2 separate regions of the Homo sapiens genome follow, and region 1 is linked to region 2. The links are contacts of gene promoters, found by promoter capture Hi-C in human tissues and cell types (Jung and others, 2019). All regions are on one chromosome and are shown on one strand. Each heading gives the region's core, a stretch centred on a gene start or on the middle of the fragment in contact. The rest is flanking DNA. Distances are from core to core; before and after follow the strand shown. Region 1 holds the start of LINC02623 (long intergenic non-protein coding RNA 2623). Region 2 holds the start of FXYD4 (FXYD domain containing ion transport regulator 4).

Region 1 (4,196 bases), core at 352-2,851, 500 kb before region 2:
GTCTTGACTCCACTCGATTTCAATCCTTGGGTGGCTTTTCCTGTGATCACACTCAGCCCTGATACAGCCATTGCTGGGGCCTCCCCTGGCTGGACGTTCCGCTTTTGGTCCACATTCTTTCCTCCTGCCCTGAGGCTGGCCATGGGCCTCCTGAAGGCTAGCTGGGAGGACCTCCCTTCCATGGCTGTGCTCTTGCTCTGCCCACGCTGTCGCCTCCATCTCTACCTCCCTTTCCATCCTCACCACCAGCGCTCGAGTCAGTGGGGAGCTTTTCACTCACCAAGCCCAGGCAGGTGCGTCACGTGAATTTCTCTTGAGCCTCCCACTAGAGGTAGTGGCACTGTTGTCACCCTATCTGCTGAGGATATGCTGGGGCTGGCAGGGGCTACCCAAGACCAAAGGTGTCGCTGTCTCCATCCTGTGCCCACCCAGCCCTGCCCCCTGGGATCCCTTCAAATCTTTTTTTTTTTTTTTTTTTTTGAGATGGAGTCCTGCTCTGTCTCCCAGCCTGGAGTGCAGTGGCGTGATCTCAGCTCACTGCAATCTCCGCCTCCCGGGTTCAAGCGATTCTCCTGCCTCAGCCTCACAAGTAGCTGGGACTACAGGCACCCACCACCACACCCGGCTAATTTTTTTTTTTTTTTTTTGTATTTTAGTAGAGACGGGGTTTCACTATGTTGGCCAGGCTGGTCTTGAACTCCTGACCTCATGATCCCCCTGCCACAGCCTCCCAAAGTGCTGGGATTACAGGCATGAGCCACCACACCTGGCCCCCTTCAAATCTTAACAGAGAAGCCACCAAAGTCTCCTTGGGTCCATCACATGGATGGACCTCCTGGGCCCTTCAGCCCCTGGGCTTCCCTTGAGGTCCTGGAGCTATGTGGGCTCCAGCTCTGGGAAGGTGGACCCCCACGTGTGTGTCCTGCCGTCACTGTCTCTAAGGAGTCTGGCTCACACTAAGTGAGCCATAAGGCCTTGTTCAAGGTCATCTGTCCCACTGATTTCAGACGCATGGTGGAGTCTGAAATCATCTGTCCCCCACAGTGCATTCAGAGCCCTGTCTGGACTAGGGCACACACACATGCATGCTCATATATGCATATGCACATACGCACACACATATGCATATGCACATACGCACACACATATGCATATGCACATACGCACACACATATGCATATGCACATACGCACACACATATGCATATGCACATATGCACACACATATGCATATGCACACACATGCAAGGCTGCAAGGCTCATGCACACACACACATGCACACACATGCACACACATGCACATGCACACACATGCACATGCATGCTCACATGTACAGGCACTCATGCACCTAGAGCCTTCTCATCCTTCACTTTGAGTCCCCCCTCCCCTTGCCCATCCTTGCCCATCCTTCAAGGGCTCAGTCAAAAGCCATCTTTTACAAATTGTCTCTGGTTGACTTTCTTTTTTTTCCCCTCTTAGAAGAAGCGATGCTGTCCTCAGTCATCGAGCATTCACTGGGCGCTTCATGTGTGCCAGGCCCCGACATGGGTCTTGGGCATGTTCCAGTTCTCATGTCCTCAGGGCTCCTTGGTGAGTCGAGGGTGAGGAGGACACGGAGGCACAGGAGGCCACGGGGCAGGTCTAGGTCCACTCAGCCTCCAGAGTTCAGCCCTCCCTGCTGAGTCGGGGTGAGCAGGACAGATGCCTGCTCCTGGAACTTGGTGGGTGAGGTGGACAGGCATGCAGGGAGGCGCCAGGCTCAGGGGCTGTGGAACAGAGAAAGGAAGCTTCCAGGACATCAAACAATTCCTGGAGTGCCAGGGCAAGAGGGGAATCTGGGTGGAGGAAAACGTGAACAGGGCAGAGGTTGGAGGTGGATGTGGCCCCCGAGCACGTTGGAGGCGACTGAGGTGCTTCTTGACTTTGGGCATCTTCGTTCATCCCTGCATTTGCACATTTGTTGAACACACCTACTGAGACACTTGTTTTCTTTCCATGGTCCATACATTAGGAACATAGAGTTAGCTTCCTGGGGAACTTTTTAAGAAGTATTCTTAGAGAAGAAACCAGGAGGCATCGTTGTGGGATGTTGGTCCAGGATCTTGGGTGTGTCCTTTGGTCTTTTGTGGGTCAGGTTAGCAGGAATTGTGTCCTGAGGTGTTGGGACTGCAAAGTACAGGTTCCCTCCTGCCCACACTGATGCCTTCAGGGAATGACCTGTCTGCTCTTCTAAGAAGAACACTTAACTCAGCCTTGGCTGACCTCAGCTACCTGTGCTTTCTTCAGCCAGGCTCTGTGTTTTGTGCTTTTACTCTCAAAACAACCCTATTATTATCCCTGTCCCACAGACGAGATGCTGAGCCCCTGAGAGGCTCAGTAGGTGCCTGAAGGTCTTCCAGCCAGGAGGTGGCAGAGCCAGGGCCGGCCTGGCCTGAGGACTCCGAAGCTCCCATGGGCACAGCTCCTTCATGCCAGCTCTGTGTTGGGATTTTCTGTGGTTGTCACAGCCATCTTCCTGGTCAGCTAAGTTACAGACAGGGTGAAACTAGGATGGCCGAGCTGGAACCAGAGCTCATTCCTGAGCAGGGCACCTGGGCCCTGCCTACGGTGCTGGGCAGGCTCCTGGTGTGGAGGTCAGGCTCAGATCCTGCAGTCCCTGTGGCCGTGGGGCTTTTCTAGGCACCCTCCTGACTGCTAACACCAGGAGGGCCTATGATATGGGACCGCTGCCCCATGACGTGTGCCAGGTTTCTGCACGTGACCACTGGGAAAGGCTGGCCCTGGGCTGGGTGGATCCGCACTGCCTGCTGGCCCCTGCACCCAGATGGTGCAGCCCACACCCCTCTGATGCCCACCCACGCCCGGCTCTGGGACTTCCCTCCTTCCGCTGTGTCTGACCCTGGTTGCCCTTGTTCTGCCACTGGCTTGTAGCAGCCCTTCCGGAAGCCATGTCCTCCAGGGAGATTTGATTATGTCCTGGTGGTGCGACCTCGCTAATGCAATCAGGAAGTTTTCTCAAGACTTCAGCTGCTTTGTTGGCAGCCAGGCCTGGCTCTCAGCAGCTCTGCAGGCTGGAAGGGCCCAAGAGACCCTTCACCCACCCGGTGTCTCCAGCAGCAGGGAGGGGTCCGGGGCACAGCCTATTGCTGCTCTGCTCTCCTCCCTTCTTGGGGTAAGCTCCTTTGCTCTGATTTTATTTGGAATCATCGAGAGCCTCTATCTGTCTAGAAAAAGCGCTTAGCAATGAGGAATCAGCACTGCAGAGAATACTCCAGAAAGCAGCCATTTTCCATCAAGATTAGGCTCTTAATTGAAAATTTTAAGAGGAGAGGAAATTAGGGGAGAATCCAGATATTCTCTCCATTATGGTAATCAGCTGTAATCAGAGCCTGAGAGCTGTACTCAATCCCGGGGGTTCTCCCAGGATTACCAGAGCTGCCACAGTCACCTTCACCGACCTGCACTGGAGTCAGTGGGAGGGGCTGGCGGGGTCAGGGGCACTCTGGCAAGTGGATCCAGGAGGGCTGGGCTGGATCCAGGGGGCTGAGTTCAGAGGGAACTCTGCTTAGCAAGTGTGAAACACAGGACTGGGCCTTCCAGGCAGAGGGAAGATTGAGAACTGCGGCTGAGCGAGTGCGTCCAGGGGCCCCAGTTTAGTTGAGGGTCTAAGTTTTCCCAGCAGGGCAAGGTTGAGGGTGAGGATGCTGCAGGCCAGTTTTCTATGGCCTCAGAGTGAGGACAAGAAGGGGGAGATGGGCCACAGGGATGAGGGTGCCTGCTCCCTGCAGCAGGGTGCACATCATGGCTGTGCAGAGGCAGCAGGCGGCAGGTATTAGGAAGAAGCCCTTCCCGTGTGTGTCCTAGGGGCTGGGCACAGGCTGGGCACAACCCTTTGCTCACGGTTGCAGAAGCCCATCCACATGGGGTCCTGCTGAACTGGCTTCGTGGGGCTGGGAAGGACTGGCCTGGCCTCTTTGCTCACTTCACCTTATGGGCAGTGTCCTGCAGGTTTCTGTGAGCAGAGCAGACAGAAAGGAGATGCCCAGTGACGCCAGCTGTCCCCCGCAGAGCTTCCTGGAGCCTGGGCTCTAGGCTGAGGGTCCTTGAACAGACGTCATCTCCCTGGCTTCAGCAGAATCACCCACAAACCCACCCTGTGCCCACCCTCCCATCACAGAGAGCAGCTGCTGGAGAAC
Region 2 (4,227 bases), core at 913-3,412:
CCCAGACTGGTCTCAAACTCCTGGGCTCAAGTGATCTGCCCACCTTGGCCTCCCAGAGTGTCAGGATTTAACCCCCACACTCCACCGAGACTTTAAAACTCTGACTTCCATTCTTCTCTTTTTTTCTTTTTTAAGATGGAGTCTCGCTCTGTCGCTGAGGCTGGAGTGCGGTGGCACGATCTCAGCTTACTGCAACCTCCGCCTCCCAGGTTCAAGCGATTCTCCTGCCTCAGTTTCCCAAGTAGCTGGGACTACAGGAGCGCGCCACCACGCCCGGCTAATTTTTGTATTTTTAGTAGAGACGGGGTTTCACCTTGTTGGCCAGGCTGGTCTTGAACTCCTGATCTCATGTTCTGCCCTCCTCAGCCTCCCAAAGTGCTGGGATCACAACCGTGAGCCACCGCCCCCAGCCATGACTTCCATTCTTTACCATCCTTACTTCCTGAGCAGGCCATCCTTAACCTTTACACTTAAATAAACTCCTTTAAACTAAAATCTAACCTGTTTGACTATTGTAGATTGACAGGCTAATGAGAGTATGAACCTCCAAAGACTTCTGTGAGGGCTAGGTGCAGTCATATATGCAATGAACTCAAGTAAACAGCTGGCTGAGGAAACACCGGGACGCCTCCTCTGTGCTAAGCCCCATGCAGCATGCACACAGACACAGGCCCACCTCAGCCTCCCAAAGTGCTGGGGTTACAGGCGTGAGCCGCCTTTCCCAACCAATATTTTATATTTTTACACAAGTGACAGCATCCTATTCAGACTGCCCTATACTTTTTTTCCACTTAAAAGTATGTCTGGGCCAGACATAGTGTCTCACACCTGTAATCCCAGCATTTTGGGAGGCCGAGGCAGTGGATCGCCTGAGGTCAGGAGCTCGAGACCAGCCTGCTCAACATAGCGAAATCCCATCTCTACTAAAAATACAAAAATTAGCTGGGCACAGTGGTGTGTGCCGGTAATCCCAGCTACTCGGGAGGCTGAGACAGAATTGCTTGAACCTGGGAGGTGGAGGTTGTGGTGTGCCAAGATCGAGCCACTGCACTCCAGCTTGGGCGACAGAGCGAAATTCCAGCTCAAAAATAAATATATAAATAAACAAACAAACCAACTAAACCATCATTGCCCTCCCCAGCCCTCCCAGCCCAGAGACCCCCATCCCTTGTCAGCCATCCCCCCTTACCTTCTGGACAGGGACAAGTGTCCCTCATTTGGAAAAGAATTAAGGAGGGGTAACAGCAGACTAGGGAGGCCTGGGGTCCTCCACACGCCTGTGTGGGGTGACTTTGGCCCCCAGCAACAAGGCAGGCCTGAGGTCTGCAGAGGGAGGCAGCCCACTCCTCAGCCGGGGGCGTCTATCCTCCTCCTGGCCCCATCCCTCACCTGTGGGGGAGGCTAAGTGGGTGTCAGGGCCCTGTCAGAGGGTGAGCCACCCCCGGGGGTGCCCATCGGCCACCAGCCTCCCTTCAGTAGACACCCAGCCCAAGTGACAGCAGTGGCATGGCACTGCTGAGCACAGGGAGCCTCAAGGTCAGTGCCTGGCTCCTGGTATCCTCCGTGGTCCCCAGGACACCCCCACACAGAGGTCCCAGAACCCCCAAAGCTGGCACAAGAGCCCAGGAACACCCTGCCCAGCACCCTCCAGGTCCCTCTTTTAGGATCTGGGTGAGCTAAAGAAGCCAAAAGAAAGGCTGGGCGCGGTGGCTCACGCTTGTAATCCTAGCACTTTGGGAGGCCGAGGTGGGCGGATTGCCTGAGCTCAGGAGTTGGAGACCAGCCTGGGCAACACATTGAAACCCCATCTCTACTAAAATACAAAAAAAATTAGCCAGGTGTGGTGGCGTGCACCTGTAGTCCCAGCTACTCGGGAGCCTGAGGCAGGGGAATTGCTTGAACCCAGGAGGCAGAGGTTGCAGTGAGCTGAGATTGCATCACTGCACTCCAGCCCGGGTGACAGAGTGAGACTCCATCTCAAAAAAAGAAAAAAAAAAAAAAAAAAAAAAAAAAAAGAAGCCAAAAGAGGGTCTTCGGCCCAGCCCGCCCCTCCCCAACAGCCCTGGGTGTGGCAGGGAGCCTGACCAGTTCCCTCCAGCCTGCGTCATGGAGCCCTGGGCGTGGCTGCAGGGTTTAAAGAGCCGACCCACGTGCCCAGCAGCCTCCTCAGATCCGTTCTCTGCGCTGCCAGCTCAGGTGAGCCCTCGCCAAGGTGACCTCGCAGGTGAGCAGGCGTCCACTTTGGGGCTGCTGGGTGAAGGGGGTGGGTGCCCAAGAATTCTGAGTAATGAGGAGCCTGTTGAGGGGTCTGAGGACAGATATGGCTGCAGCAGCCGCTTGAAGGCCTCCTGCTTTGCACCCACTATCATATGGATGGTGGGTTGGGGGTTGGAGGAAACAGAAGCCAGCCCTTGGCTAAAGAATATATGAGCTGGTGGGGTATACCTCTGGTCCCAACTGCTTGAGATACTCAGGTGAGGAGATCACCTGAGCCAAGAGAGTTCAAGGCTGCAGTGAGCCGAGATCACGCCACTGCTCTCCATCCTGGGTAACAGAGCAAGACCCTGTCTCAAAAAAAAAAAAAATAGTAATAATAATAATAATAAAATAAAAAATGTGACCTAGAGTTGAGACCCTCGTATTCCAGGAACTCCAGGTTGGTGAAGGTAGAGAGACCAGTGAAGGCTGGGGGAAGCCAGCTTTGGAGACTGCTCCTAGCCCAAGAACCGATGTTCAGAAGCAGTGCCTAACAGTCTCTCCCTCCAGTGCCTCCCTCCCACTGCAGAAGGACCATGTGTTTATTTATGGATGTATTTATTTATTTATTTTGAGATGGAGTCTCCCTCTGTTGCCCAGGCTGGAGTGCAGTGCCAGGATCTCGGCTCACTGCAACCTCCACCTTCCAGGTTTAAGTGATTCTCCTGCCTCAGCTTCCCAAGTAGCTGGGAATACAGGCGCCTGTCACCACACTCAGCTAATTTTTGTATTTTTAGTATAGATGGGGTTTTGCCATGTTGGCCAGGCTGATCTTGAACTCCTGACCTCAGGTGATCCACCCGCCTCAGCCTCCCAAAGTGCTGGGATTATAGGTGTGAGCCACTGCGCCCGGCCTATGGATGTATTTATTGTAACAGGTTTTTAGTGCTTACTGTGTGCTAGGCATAGTTCTTAGGCTTGACAAATAGTAGTTCACGTAATTCCATCGCTATAACCTTATGAGGTTGCTACTATTCTGATGATCCTCCTTTTACAGGACACTGGTGAAGGAGCAGTGAGGAACCTGCAGAGTCACACAGTTGGTAAGTTGCTAAGAAGGGACCCAGCCCAGACAGCTGGCCCTGGATCTGTGATCTCATCAGGAGGCCAGAGCTGGGTACAGCAGATGATGACAATGGCTTCAGTATTGAAAACTTGACCACACTAGGCTAACAATATGCAGAGGGCTGGGAGGGGGCCTGCGCTCAAAGACTCAGCCTCCCTAAGGACAAGTAAATGGGGTCCTGGCTACTTCCAACCTGAGGGGGAAATGTCATACCACAGGAGGTCTATACTCTGAGAGCAGAATCTGGGTCTGCTGGAGTAGGGTCCCCTGCCAGGGCTGGCAGGGGAGGTCCTGGCTGCTGCAGTCATCTCATCCCAGGACTCAGCACTCCCTCCCTCCTCCACACCCTTGCTTTTGTGGAGGCTCTCTGGGAATTCAGACTGAGGGTGCTGGACTCTGGCCACCCCAGGCCCAGACCTTTGGGAACAATAGCCTGGGGCCTGATAACAATGCCCTTTGTGTGGGGTTAGGAAGGCAGGCTCCAGACCCTGACTTAGAATAGCAGCCACCTGACCCTGGGCATCTGATTACACCTCTCTAAGCTCCATTTTTTTTTTTCTTCTCTGAAATAGAGACAATAATAGTATCTTCCTCATGGGGAGGAGTAGGGGGTGGGTTTGTCGCATGGATTTTAACAACGCCTTCTACAGCACTTACTCTGTGCAGGCACAGTTTTGAGCTCTTAGCTTGTGCTTACTCAATCCACACAACTCCCCCAGGCCACCACCATCTCTAGATGGGAAGACAGAAAGTAGTTACTTTCCCAAGATCTCCCCACAAGCAAGTGTATCCTTGGGGTTTGTACACCTACTTTCACCATGGGGCTCTGCCTGCCCCCGCCCCTGCCTCCTCTCGCTGACCAATTGAGCTGTGAGCCTGGAGCAGATCCGTGGGCTGCAGACCCC

What was found. Contacts are between HindIII fragments. The study calls those that stand out against the background at their distance.
Region 1: a contact is called between a fragment that was not itself captured here and the fragment with the promoter of FXYD4 in region 2, in 2 of the 25 tissues and cell types used here (H1 embryonic stem cells and dorsolateral prefrontal cortex).

What each region holds. Positions count from the first base shown.
Region 1 is chr10:42,868,511-42,872,706 of GRCh38, forward strand. It overlaps LINC02623 (long intergenic non-protein coding RNA 2623), which reads left to right and starts at 3,011. Exons shown (of 2, transcript NR_134479.1): 1 at 3,011-3,172; 2 at 3,999-4,196. RefSeq lists enhancers at 2,355-2,856, 2,857-3,356. The HindIII fragment of the contact is 5,667 bases long and covers 1-4,196 here.
Region 2 is chr10:43,369,474-43,373,700 of GRCh38, forward strand. FXYD4 (FXYD domain containing ion transport regulator 4) reads left to right here and starts at 2,163. Exons shown (of 9, transcript NM_173160.3): 1 at 2,163-2,224; 2 at 3,254-3,299; 3 at 4,042-4,227. The HindIII fragment of the contact is 15,718 bases long and covers 1-4,227 here.